Regions from separate parts of the Homo sapiens genome. Here region 1 is linked to region 2. The links are contacts of gene promoters, found by promoter capture Hi-C in blood cells and fetal thymus (Javierre and others, 2016). All regions are on one chromosome and are shown on one strand. The core of a region is centred on a gene start or on the middle of the fragment in contact, and the rest is flanking DNA. Distances in the headings are between cores, read along the strand shown. Region 1 overlaps ABCC5 (ATP binding cassette subfamily C member 5). Region 2 holds the start of CAMK2N2 (calcium/calmodulin dependent protein kinase II inhibitor 2).

The links. Contacts are between HindIII fragments. The CHiCAGO score rates a contact against its expected background, and 5 or more counts as called.
Region 1: a fragment that was not itself captured here is called in contact with the fragment with the promoter of CAMK2N2 in region 2 in 3 of 17 cell types (endothelial precursors, M1 macrophages and M0 macrophages); the score reaches 7.4 in endothelial precursors.

What each region holds. Positions count from the first base shown.
Region 1 is chr3:183,988,380-183,994,921 of GRCh38, forward strand. It overlaps ABCC5 (ATP binding cassette subfamily C member 5), which reads right to left. Exons shown (of 30, transcript NM_005688.4): 3 at 847-1,004; 4 at 193-348. Among named protein-coding and RNA genes, the nearest start is that of ABCC5-AS1, 15 kb to the right of the region's middle. RefSeq lists an enhancer at 1,694-2,194. The HindIII fragment of the contact is 1,078 bases long and covers 2,535-3,612 here.
Region 2 is chr3:184,260,208-184,266,514 of GRCh38, forward strand. CAMK2N2 (calcium/calmodulin dependent protein kinase II inhibitor 2) reads right to left here and starts at 1,346. Exons shown (of 2, transcript NM_033259.3): 1 at 910-1,346; 2 at 1-20. The coding sequence starts at 1,078. The region is part of intron 2 of EEF1AKMT4-ECE2 (EEF1AKMT4-ECE2 readthrough); the gene reads left to right. RefSeq lists enhancers at 1-552, 2,438-3,200. The HindIII fragment of the contact is 12,942 bases long and covers 1-4,900 here.

The DNA of each region.
Region 1 (6,542 bases), core at 1,824-4,323, 270 kb before region 2:
CCGTGGTTAAAACAGGATCAAAGGTGAAATAGGAGATAAAGCAAAAGAGCAAAGAGAAAGTCATCCCCAGGCCGCCCGCCCTCCACTGGACAGCTCGGCTCTTTAAAGACACAGAGCTGTGGACTTCACACTCCTAGCTCAGGCCCTGCCCACCCGGCATGGGGGAGATGAGGGTGGACCAGAGGCGCCTACCTTCTGCAGTTCACGTCAGAAGACTCGTGCTTGGACAGAGACCACACGTCTTCCATTGAGAGCTCCCCCTTCTTGTGGGCCACACGGGCCAGAGAAGAAAGCCACGAAAAAGTCATACAGGAAAAAAGCCCAGCATTGTCCACTGGGTGCTGGTGTCTAAGGAGAGAAAACCGAAATCACAAAGCTATCAACACGCACGGAGAGGGCAGCCCGTGTTTAATGGACACTGTTTAGTGAACACAGCTCTTAGCTAAAGACCAGTCTCCCCAGATGATCTAATCTTAGCCTGAATGTTCTAAAACGGCTTTGATGGGCCGGGCGCGGTGGCTCACACCTGTAATCCCAGCACTTTGGGAGGCCGAGGCGGGCAGATCATGAGGTCAGGAGATTGAGACTATCCTGGCCAATATGGTGTAACCCCGTCTCTACTAAAAATACAAAAAAATTAGCTGGGCTTGGTGGTGGTGCACGCCTGTAGTCCCAGCTACTCAGGAGGCTGAGAGGCAGGAGAATCACTTGAACCCAGGAGGCGGAGGTTGCAGTGAGCCGAGATCATGCCACTGGCGACAGAGCAAGACTCCATCTCAAAAAAAAAAAAAAAAAAAAAAAAAGGCCTTTGATGCTTCACTGTCATCACTCAGCACGGCATCTTACTTGGAAGTAGTCCGGATGGGCTTCAGAGCACTCAAGCCATGATGGTACTTTCCCTTGGGATGCTCCTCATCCAGGATTCTGAGCTGAGAATGCATGGAGGCATCAAGAGAGAGGCCCTCGGCTCGGGCTGCTGTTTCCAAGGCATCTTGGCATTCCAACTGTTCCAGCAGATAGGGAGAAAGGCAAGAGCACAGTTAATACACAGGCGAGAGGCAAACGGAACTGATGAAACAGCTCAAACTGCAAACTGGACTCATCTTAACTGAGAAATTCCAAGCAAGGGTCAGGAGGTTAAACACTAACTTTGTATGATTTGAACCCATTGGGGAACATTAAGCTAGATATTTAAAAATTTTAAACAGTTTTCTTTTTTTTTTTTTTAGCATCTTTAGGTTTTACAGAAAAACTAATCAGATAGTACAGAATGCTCCCATATACCTCTGTACCTCTCCCGTCCTCCTCATCTGTTTTTCCTATTATTAACATCTTCCATTAGTGTGGTACCTTTGTTACAATTGATGAGCCAATACAGATTCATTATTAACTGAAGTCCATAGGTTACATTAGGGTCCGCTCTTTGTTTTTTTGGGTTTTTTTGAGATAGAGTCTCCCTCTGTCACCCAGGCTGGAGTGCAGTGGCGCAATCTCGGCTCATTGCAACCTCCACCTCCCGGGTTCAAGCAATTCTCCTGCCTCAGCCTCCTGAGTAGCTGGGATTACAGGGATGTGCCACCATGCCTGGCTAATTTTTGTATTTTTAGTAGAGGTGGGGTTTCACCATGTTGGTCAGGCTGGTTTCGAACTCCTGACCTCATGATCCACCTGCCTTGGCCTCCCAAAGTGCTGGGATTACAGGCATGAGCCACCGCGCCCGGCCCTGTTTTTATTTTATTTTATTTTTGAGATGGAGTCTCGCTCTGTTGCCCAGGCCGGAGTGCAGTGGCATGATCTTGGATCACTGCAATCTCAGCCTCCCCGGTTCAAGCAATTCTCATGTCTCAGCCTCCGAGTAGGGGGGTTACAGGCGTGCACCACCATGCCCAGCTAATTTTTGTATTTTTAGTAGACACGGGGTTTCACCATGTTGGCCAGGATGGTCTTGATCTCTTGACCTCGTGATCCGCCCACCTCAGCCTCCCAAAGTGTTGGGATTATAGGTGTGAGCTGCCGCGCCCAGCTTATGGACCACTCTTTGTGTTCTATGTTCTAAAATTTACATTTTTATTACCAAATGTTTTATCTTCTGTTTCCCAATATGGATTGAGAGTCAATTATTTCACTACTAACTGAAAATCTGATTGCCCATTTCCTATGACAAAAATTTCCATCAGCCCCAATTAAACAGCCCTGCCACACAGAAAGAGCCTGGATGTACACGTGCCTCCCCTGTCACAGCAGCAGCAGGGAGAACAGAACGTGAGTTCTTATCCTGGCTGCACAGCTGAAGAGCTCTACACTTCCCTGCAGCACGCAGCAAAGGATCTCATGAGCTGAAATATAAAGTTACACGTATTTACTAACTAGAAAGTGTATAAATGTTCGTTCATTAGATTAACAAAAGTGCATGCAAAAGTGCATTCTAAGTCTGACTGTGGCAGAAGAGGGTGGGTCAAGAATCTAGACACACTTATCCCCCGTTTACTCTAAAAGTAACTCAAACGTTTATGCTTTCCTGTTGTAGAAGCAGAAGCTTCATTTTCCTCAATTTCCTTATCTTCCTTTTCTGTCTTAGCAGTGAAAGTCACATTATTACAAATATTTCCAGCAATTATTGTGAAACAGTAAAAAACAGATCTCAGCTGGGCATGGTGGCTCGCGCCTGTAATCCTGACACTTTGGAAGGATCGGTTGAGCTCAGGAGTTCAAGACCACCCTGGGCAACACAGCAACACACCATCTCTACAAAAAGTAAAAAAAAAAAATCAGCCAGGCATGGTGATGCGTGCCTGCAGTACCAGCTACTTGGGAGATGGAGGCAGGAGGATGACTTCAGCCCAGGAGTTGGAGGCTGCAATGAGCTATGATCGTACCACTGCACTCCAGCCTGGGTGACAGAGCAAGACTCTGTCTCTAAAAGAAGGAAAAAAAAAACAAAAAACAAACAAACAAACAAAAAAACAAGGAGAATAGATCCCCAAATCAAGAAAAAGTTAAGTGGTTTAGCACCTAACACACCAAGCCTTATACAAAGCAGTTGATTTTTATACATCACCTCCTTTCCCACCAAAGAACAGCGGGAACTTAAACATTAACAGAACTGAACGGGTAGAATTTTGTATACAGGAGTCAGCTGGATGCCTGGGCAGATCAAACACAATAGCTTTAGTTCACAGCACAGTTAAGTATCTTTAGATAACTTCTGGTATTAGGAAAGCACATAGCCCTGCAAAGCACACTCCTTTCCTTTTGTCAAAGGCAAGTCAGACCAGTTTCAAGAGAATAATGGTACAACATGACAGGAGTCAACAACAAGAACGAACTCGCTCTTAAATGAAGTCCTTATGTATAAGGTCAACACTTAATTTAGTGGTTAGGGACTACGGCACTTGATAATGAGCTGAGGACTGCTGAGATTTAAGTACATTACAAAGGTTTTTCTTACCTATGAGCTGCATATAATCACAAGGGGAAGGAAAAAACCTCCTGGATTGAGAGAGAAAGATACACTAAAAATACAAGCACACCTACTTTAAGTGAGTAGAAACTGGGAATCTGTACAGAGTAGGTACAGAATGTTACAGGGACCAGCCTTATTTGGATATCCAAAGCTTCAGAAGATGACAAAAGATCTGAAAAATGTCACTTCAAATACATTGCCAAAATGGACTATACATTGGGCTATAAAGCAAACCTCAACAAATCTCAAGACTGACATCATGTATACATGCACTCTGACCACTTTAGGATTTAATTAGAGTTCAGTAACAAAGATTTTTAAAATATCTGAATGTTCAGAAATTATGCAATATACTTCTAAGTAATGTAAGTGAAAGAAAACATCAAACGGGCATGACAATTTGTACCTATATAATCTCAACTACTCAGGAGGCTGAGGTGGGAGGATTGCTTGAGCTCAGGAGTTTGAGGCTGCAGTGAACTTTGATCTCACCACTACACTCCAGACTGGGCAACAGAACAAGACTCTATCTCTTTAAATTAATAAATAAAAAGAAGGCATTAAATGGAAACCAGAACATATTCTGTGCTAAACAGTATGAAACTGCAATACATCAACATCTCTGGGATGCAGCTAAAACAGAGAATAAGGTGAGATTTTCATCGCTTTCAAAGCATATACGCCTGTAATCCTAGCACTTTGGGAGGCCAAGGTGGGCGGATCACGAGGTCAGGAGATCGAGACCATCCTGGCTAACACGGTGAAACCCCGTCTCTACTAAAAAAAAATACAAAAAATTAGCTGGGCGCCATGGCAGGCACCTATAGTCCCAGCTACTCGGGAGGCTGAAGCAGGAGAACGGTGTGAACCTGGGAGGCGGAGCTTGCAGTGAGCCAAGATAGCGCCACTGCACTCCGGCCTGAGCGAAAGAGCGAGACTCCGTCTCAAAAAAAAAATAAAAAATAAAAAAATAAAAGAAGAAAAAGAGAAAAATCAATGCTTTAAGCTAGGGGTTGACAAACATTTTCTGTAAAAGGCCAGAGGTAAATATTTTCAGTTTTGTGGGCTAAGAGGCAAAATCAAAGATATTAAGTAGGTACTCCTATTACAAGAGAAAACAAATCTCCACAAAATGTTGACACAATTCAGATTATAATAATTGAGTACAATTTTTTGTAATGCAGGTCTACTGATGAGAAGAATGAAATTCTTTTATGGGGGAATAACATTTCACTTAACTGGGGTTTAAAATAGTTTTCCCTTTCATCAAAATTGATTGCAAATCTTCATCTATGAATGCTGATTTGCAATGAGAGTCTACAATTCCACTTTTGCAAATGTCTTCGTGAAGGTACTGCCGGGCTGGGCGCAGTGGCTCACACCTGTAAGCCCAGCACTTTGGGAGGCAAAGGCAGGCAGACTCCTTAGGTCAGGAGTCTGAAACCAGCCTGGTCAACATGGTGAATCCCCATCTCTACCAAAAATACAAAAATTAGCAGGGCGTGGTGGCACACACCTATAGTCCCAGATACTCAGGAGGCTGAGGTAGGAGGATCTCTTGAACCAGGGAGGCAGAGATTGCAATGAGTTAAGATTGTGCCACTGCACTCCAGCCTGGGTGACAGAGCAAGACCCTGTCTCAAAAAAAAAAAAAAAAAAAAAGACAGGAACTTCCAAATACTGAGCTAAATCCAGGAATACACATTTTTAATTGAGCCTTTTATCTCATGGAAGACATTATAGAATTCTATTAGATTCCTCTCTTGACATTTACCTTTATCATATCATTACATGCATGCACCCCACTGCAGATTAATCACTTTCAATGGAAAGTTATGTGGAAGCAACTAAATGCCACAGTTAAATGGATTATTTCTATGTGGCAAAATATATATAACATAAAATTTGCCATTTTAGCCATTTTAAGTGTATAGAATTCAGAGGCATTAATTATATTCACAATACTATACAACCATTGCCACTATTTCCAAAATACACGGATCTTGAAATATGGAAATTTGCCTCATACATCATCGAGGTCTAAAAATCACTACTAGAACTGTAATTTCAGTTTGAAAAATATATCCACTACAAATTTGTACTGGAATGGAGATCTCACTTTTTTTTTTTTTTTTTTTTGAGACAGCATCTCGCTCTGTCACCCAGGATGGAGTGCAGTGGCGCAATCTTGGCTCACTGCAATCTCCGCTTCCCGGGTTCCAGCAATTCACTTGCCTCAGCCTCCCAAGTAGCTGGGATTACAAATGCCCACCACCAACCCGTCTAATTTTTGTATTTTTAGTAGAGATGCCATTTTGCCCAGGCTAGTCTCAAACTCCTGACTTCAAGTGGAGATCTCACTTCTTGTTTAACTTTTGATAGCACAAGAAGTATATAAAGCAGCTTGACATTATTTATGATTCAAATATTAGTTGTCATTGAAATTACTTGACCACAGTACCATTTTACATTCCCACTAGCAATGGATGAGAAATCTAGTTTCCCCACATCCTCACCAGTGCTTGGTATTGGCATTTTTTTTTTTACCCCCAAGACGGAGTCTTGATCTGTCGCCCAGACTGGTGTGCAGTGGTGCAATCTCGGGTCACTGCAACCTCCGCCTCCAGGGTTCAAGCAATTCTCCTGCCTCAGCCTCCTGAGTTGCTGGGATTACAGATGCCCACCACCACGCCTGGCTAATTTTTCTATTTTTAGTAGAGACGGGGTTTCACCATGTTGGTCAGGCTGGTCTCGAACTCCTAACCTAGTGATCCGCCTGCCTTGGGCTCCCAAAGTGCTGGGATTACAGGCGTGAGCCACCGCACCTGGCCAGTATTGGCATTATATTTTATTTTAGCCATTCTAATAGGTGTGGTATGGTATCTTATTGTGGTTTTAATTTGCACTACCCTAATGGTGAACGAATAATGTTTAACATCTATGTGTACTTATATGTCACCCCTACATTCTTTTTGCTGAAGTATCTGTTCAAGTCTTTTGCCCATTTTCTATGTTTTTTTTTTTTTTTTTTTAAGACAAGGTCTTGCTCTGTTGCCCAGGCTGGGAGTGCAATGGCATG
Region 2 (6,307 bases), core at 96-2,595:
CCGGTCATCCTCGATCACCACTGCGCAGGGAGAAAGCGCGTCAGCCGCGCGGCCTCGGGGGGCGGCGGCGATGAGAATGAGCCCCGCGTCCTAGCTTCCCGCGCAGCTACTGCCCGTGGCCCAGCGACGCCCCTCGGAACCCTGTGCCGCGGTGTCCTCCCCGTCCGAACTCTTCTGGAGACCCAACCCGCCGCCAAGCCTAGACCCCCTCCCCTCCCGATGGCGGAACGCCCCTCTTCCAAAGGCTCCAGCTATTCTCCCTCCCAGTGCGAGCCCTCCTGCCACCTGAGCCTTCCTCCCTCTGAGTTGATCAGAAACCTCTTGCTCACGGAATCCCCCTCTTCAACCCGCACTTCAACAGATCCCCCTGCTCAAATGGGGCTCAAACCGAGTATCCAGCTGGTCCAGCCCTCTCCTCAACCTGAGCCCTCTCGCCGCTGGAACCCCTCTTCCGATCCTGGCACCAACAGAGCTCCCCTCCCCATGCAAACAACCAAGACAAGCGGACCCCCGGCCTCCTGCCCTCTCTTGTTAGACGTCCCTCTCGACCCGAAGGTTCTTCGTATTGTCCACCGACTCAGTATTTGATCCCAAAGAATCAGCCCGTTACCCCGTGCTCCCACTTCCGTGCAGCCCCAAATGCCCCGACCGGCCCCTCCCCCTCGCCCGGGTGCCAGGGCTCTGCTTCCAGAGGTGGCGAGCATCGAATCCGGGGCACCGTGTTCCCGGGAGAAGGGAAGAGGGGGACACACACTGCAGCGGGGACCCCCCCCTCCAGCCCGGGCTGGAGAGCGGCTGGTGCGCTGGTCTGCGGCAAGAGCTGCGGGCACTCGGCGGGGAACGGCAGCCGGGGGGCGCCCGGCGGAGGGTTTCTGGGTCAGGCGGCGACTCCGGGCCCGGGCCGCGTACCTCGCTTGGCTCGGCCGATCTGGCCCAGCTTGGGGGGTCGCTTGGCCTGGTTGCCCGCGAAGAAGGAGTTGGTGTCCTGCAGGCGGCAGCTGAAGGAGAGGTCGGAGCCCTCGGGGTCTGCGCCGAAGCGGCCCATCTTGTCTTCGCTGTAGGGCAGGATCTCGGACATGGCGGGCGCGGGGTGGGCGCGGGGCGGGAGCGGGACTGCGGCGGGGCGCGGGCGGCGGGCTTGCTGCCGGACCGGCCCTACCTCAGCAGGGGAGCCGGCGGAAGGATGAAGTCATGCAGCATCCGGGGCTGAGGAGCCAAGCGGGGCCTCCTCCCCCGCGCCTCCGCCTCCCGGGCCGCTGGGCAGGCGGCGGCGGCGGCGGTGGCGGGGACCGGGCGGGGGCGGGGGCGGGGGGCGGGGGTGGCGGCGGCGGCGGCAAGAGCGGAATGACGATGAGCGCCCGACTGCGGCAGAGCACGGCGGGCGGGGCGCGGTGGAGGCGGGGCGGGCACTGGCCAGGGGAAAGAGGCGGGGCCGGGGGCAGGAGCGCGCCCAGCTACCCCGGGAACAGAGGCAGCTGGAGTGGGAGGTTCCCGCACTGTGGCGGGGAATGGCCAGCACGTGGGTCTTGGGGAATAGTACCAGCCAACCCGGCCGGGACCTCGCGGGGAGGGGCGGGACCGAAGGGGGGTGGGATCGAGCCTGGTACTGGAGGAGCTTGGAGGAGGGTCTGACCCCTAGGCTGGGAGAGGCGTGCAAGGGGGACTGGGAGCAGGAGGGCAAAAGCTGGCCGGGCGCGTTGGGGCGGGAAGGCGGCCGCAGGGCTGGCAATGGAAAGCGGGGAGCGGGAAATGCGCGGGGAGGAGACTCGGGTACAGGGTGACTGGGGAAGGCACGAACCCACAGCGCGGGAAGAGCTCGGGCCAGTGGGATGGTGCCCTTGCCGCTGACGCGCTCTTGTACTAGTTGCTCTGCTGGTCTTAAGTAGATCGTCAGGGTCCGTGCGCCTCTGAGTGCCGGTCTGTGTCTCTGTCTCCGCCTTTGTGTGTGTCAGTCCATCTCTAAGTGTCTGTATCTCTCTGTCTCTGTGCCCCGTATCTCTTTCGCTGTGTTATGGCCTTTGTCTATGCCTGTCCCTTAAGTGTCTGCCTTTCTCTATCTATCTCCATTCTTGACTCCTGTATCTCTGTGCCAGTGTCTCCGTCTCCTGAATCTGGGTATTTCAGTCTCTCCTAGGAGGGGTCTATAGAAACTGGGCCGACGCGCGCGCACCAGGGCAGACACCCCCAGCCCTAGTCCGGTGGCTGTAGCCCCCCGCGGCTCTGGAGTGGTGCGCTCGCAGTGTAGGAGGAATGAATGGCGGCGTCGCGGGGGGCGCCCTGGGCTGCGGGTGACGCGGGGAAGCTCGGAGCACCTGAGGACGCGGAGCGCGCCAGTGTGTGCCCCGAGGGAGTGCGGTAGAGATGGAGGGTGCCCCCCGCCCTCGTTGCTTTGGACCACGGGTGAGTTCTCGCCTCACCGATGGGAACATGCCCTCTTCTCCCCTTGCCTCCCGCCCCCACAACCCCCGCCCTGGCTGGCCGTCACCCGCGGCGTCACCTGCTTGCCAGCGCGCAGGAGCTCTGGCGCAATCACTGGCCTTGGGGAGGAGGGGGTGTCTCACATGCGGCGACAGTGACGGCAGCGCTGAAAACGGTAATGATCACCCTGTACGTTCATTCCACACTCCAGGCGAACGCGCTTTCCTTCCTTAATCTGGCCAAATTACCAAATCACACAGCTGGTGAGGCTGCCTTGTAGTGGGTCTCCTTCCAACACTTTCTCGCCAGGTGTTAATACCGGAGACACAGGGACAAACGCAATGGTGGCTGCCCAGGGAACTGGATGGGGGGGGCGGTATGCCACAGGATACCTTGATGCCAGCCTCACTCAAGGGCCCAGGCCTGGGGGCCCATCACTATGAAGCCCTCCTCTGCTCTGTCCTAGTCTCCGGGATGAGGGCCACAGCTGGAGGTGGAGGCCCAGCCTGGAGTGAGAGGAGCCCTGAAACTGGAAGGACAATAAAGGCGGAAGACTGGGGTCACTGGAAGAGAGTCCAGAAAATTCCACATACACTGGAAGTTGTCCAGTAATGGGTTCCAATCCTGACTCCCACTTTCTCAGTGACCTTGAACTGAAGGACCCATAATCATGGTTTTAAAAAATTAATTCGTTTGTACTTAAAACATTTTAGGAGGCCGGGCTCAGTGGCTCACGCCTGCAATACCAGCACTTTGGGAGGCCGAGGTGGGTGGATCACCTGAGGTCAGGAGTTTGAGACCAGCCTGATCAACATGGCAAAACCCTGTCTCTACTAAAAATACAAAAAAAATTAGCCAGGTGTGGCACACACCTGCAGTCCCAGCTACTTGGGAGGCTGAGGCACAAGAACCGCTTGACCTAGGGTGGCAAAGGTGGCAGTTGGCGGACATTGGGCCATTGCACTCCAGCCTGGGTGACAAAGCGAGGCGAGACTCCGTCTCAATAAAAGAAAGAGAGAGAGAGAGAGAGAGAGAGAGAGAGAGAGAGAGAGAGAGAGAGAAAGGAAGGAAGGAAGGAAAAAAATTTTAGGAAAATTAAGAAAATCACATAACATCTTTTTTTTTTTTTTTTTTTTTGACACGGAGTCTTGCTCCGTTGCCCAGGCTGGAGTGCAATGGCGCGATCTTGGCTCACCATAACCTCTACCTCCCAGGTTCAAGCGATTCTCCTGCCTCAGCCTCCCGAGTAGCTGGGACTACAGGCACACGCCACCATGCCCAGCTTTTTTTTTTTTTTTTTTTTTTTTTTTTTTTTGAGATGGAGTCTCACTCTGTCGCCAGGCTGGAGTGCAATGGCGCCATCTCAGCTCACTGCAACCTCCCCCTCCTGTGTTCAAGTGATTCTCATGCCTCAGCCTCCTGGGTAGCTGGGACTACAAGTGTGTGCCACCACTCCCAGCTAATTTTTGTATTTTTAGTAGAGACAGGGTTTCACCATGTTGGCCAGGATGGTCTCAATCTCTTGACCTCGTGATCCGCCCACTCGGCCTCCCAAAGTATTGAGATTACAGGTGTGAGCCACTGCGCCCTGCCAGTCTTTGTATTTTTTGTAGAGATGAGGTTTCACTATGTTGGCCAGGCTGGTCTTGAACTCCTGACCTCGCGATCCGCCCGCCTTGGCCTCCCAAAGTGCTGGGATTATAGGCATGAGCTACCACACCCGGCCTTATAACTATATATATATATATATATCCTTCTAGTCTTTTCACCATGTGTCTGCATGATATGATACCTCTGTAAGCCCCATGTTCTAGTCTGAAGCATGGGGATGATAAAACCTACTTATTAAGGAACGTTTTGCTGGGCAACATTCATGGCTCACACCTATGAATTCCGCCACTCAGAAGGCTGAAGCAGAAGGATCGCTTGAAGCCAGGAGTTGGAGACCAGGCTGGACAACATAACTAGGCCCCATCTCTAAATAAATAAGTAAATAAATAAGCAAGCCGGGTATGGTGGTACACACCTGTGGTCCCAGCTACTTGCAAGGCTGTGGTAGAAGGATCACCTGGGCACAGGAGTTTGAGGCTGCAGTGAGCCATAATGGTGCCACTGCACTCTGGCCTGGGTGACAGAGCAAGACCCTGACTCAAAAAAGAAAGAAAAGGACAGTTTTGTAGATGAAACTGTCCTGGGGTAAAGTGGGTTGTCTCGGGAGGTAGTGAGCTGCCCCTCACCTAAAATGCCAAAGAAGAGGCATGAGGGTTCTTGCCAAGGATGAGATAAGAGTATTGTGTGAGGAATTGAAACAATTCTCCTTTCTCTCTGCACAATGAGGGAGATTGGAAAAATGACAGTTTAATCCAGAATTCACTTGGTTACCTCCTTCTTAAATAATTATATTCCCGTCCCGGCCGTGCCTGCTGGATCATGGTTAAAGCAAAAGTCCTAAGTACAAACCTGTGGACTATTATGATATATAAGCTTCAGCTATGTTGTAAAAATGTGGGGATTTCTTTAAATTCTGCTCCTCTCTTTAAAATTCTGATATTCTGCTTCCTTCCCATGAGAGGAAAATACATTTTCACTAAAATGAAATAAAGCTTGTATAGAGTTGCGTGACAGTGCATTGAGTCTCTCAATTGGAAGTCCCTCAAACCTAGTATACTTGTCCACGTGCTCTACACAGATAACATGCCTTTTGACAATTGAGTATTAGTGACACTTTTAGTCAAGTGGAAACTGTAGACCCCTGTAGTGGATTGAATAGGGACTCCCACAACAATTCAATGTTCACCTGTAACCTCAAAGTGTGACCCAGGGCCAGGTGCAGTGGCTCATGCCTGTAATCCCAGCACTTTGGGAGGCCAAGGCGGGAGGATGACTTGAGCCTAGGAGTTCAAAACCAGCCTGGGCAATATAGTGAGACGCCATCTCTACTAAAAAAAAAAAAATTAGTTAGGCATGGTGGTGCATGCCTGTAGTCCCAGCTACTTGGGAGGCTGAGGTAGGAGGATAACTTGAGCACAGAAGCTAGTTGACAGTGAGCTATGACTGTACCGCACTGCACTGTAGCCTGGGTGGCAGAGCAAGACCCTGTCTAAAAAAAAAAAAAGTGTGACCTTATTTGGAAATAGGGCTTTTGCAGATACAATTAGTTAAGATAAGGTACAGTCAGGCTAGGTGGCTAATGCCTGTAATCCCAGCACTTTGGGAGGCCCAGGCGGGTGGATCACCTGAGGTCAGGAGTTCAAGACCAGCCTGGCCAAGATGGAGAAACCCCATCTCTACTAAAAATAGCCCAGATTGTGCCACTGCACTCCAGCCTCTGTGACAGAGTGAGATCCTGTCTCAAAAAATAAAATAAAATAAAATAAAAAAATATAGGCCGGGTGTGGTGGCTCATGCCTGTAATCCTAGCACTTTGGGAGGCCAAGGCAGGAAGATCCCATGAGCCCAGGAGTTGAAGACCAGCCTGGGCAACATAGGGAGACCCTGTCTTATATAGAAAGAAAAAAATAAAAAATAAATTAAGATGGGGTTATACTGGATTATGGTGGGCCCTAAATCCCATCACCAATGTGTTTATAAGAAGAGAACAGACACACAGGGAAAAAGGCCACATGAAAGACGCAGAGATAGGAGTGAGGGAACTACAAGGTAAGGAAAACCAAGAATTGTTGGGAGCCACCAGCAGCTGAAAGAGGCAAGGAAGAATTCTTTACTAGAGTCTTCCAAAGGAGCTTAACCCTACCAACACCTTGATTTTGGACTTCTGGCCTCCAAAACTGTGAGAGAATAAGTTTCTGTTGTTTTAAGCCCTCAGTTTGTGGTACCTTGTTACAGCGGCCCTAAGAAACAAATACAAGCTGTTAGAAATATTTTGGGG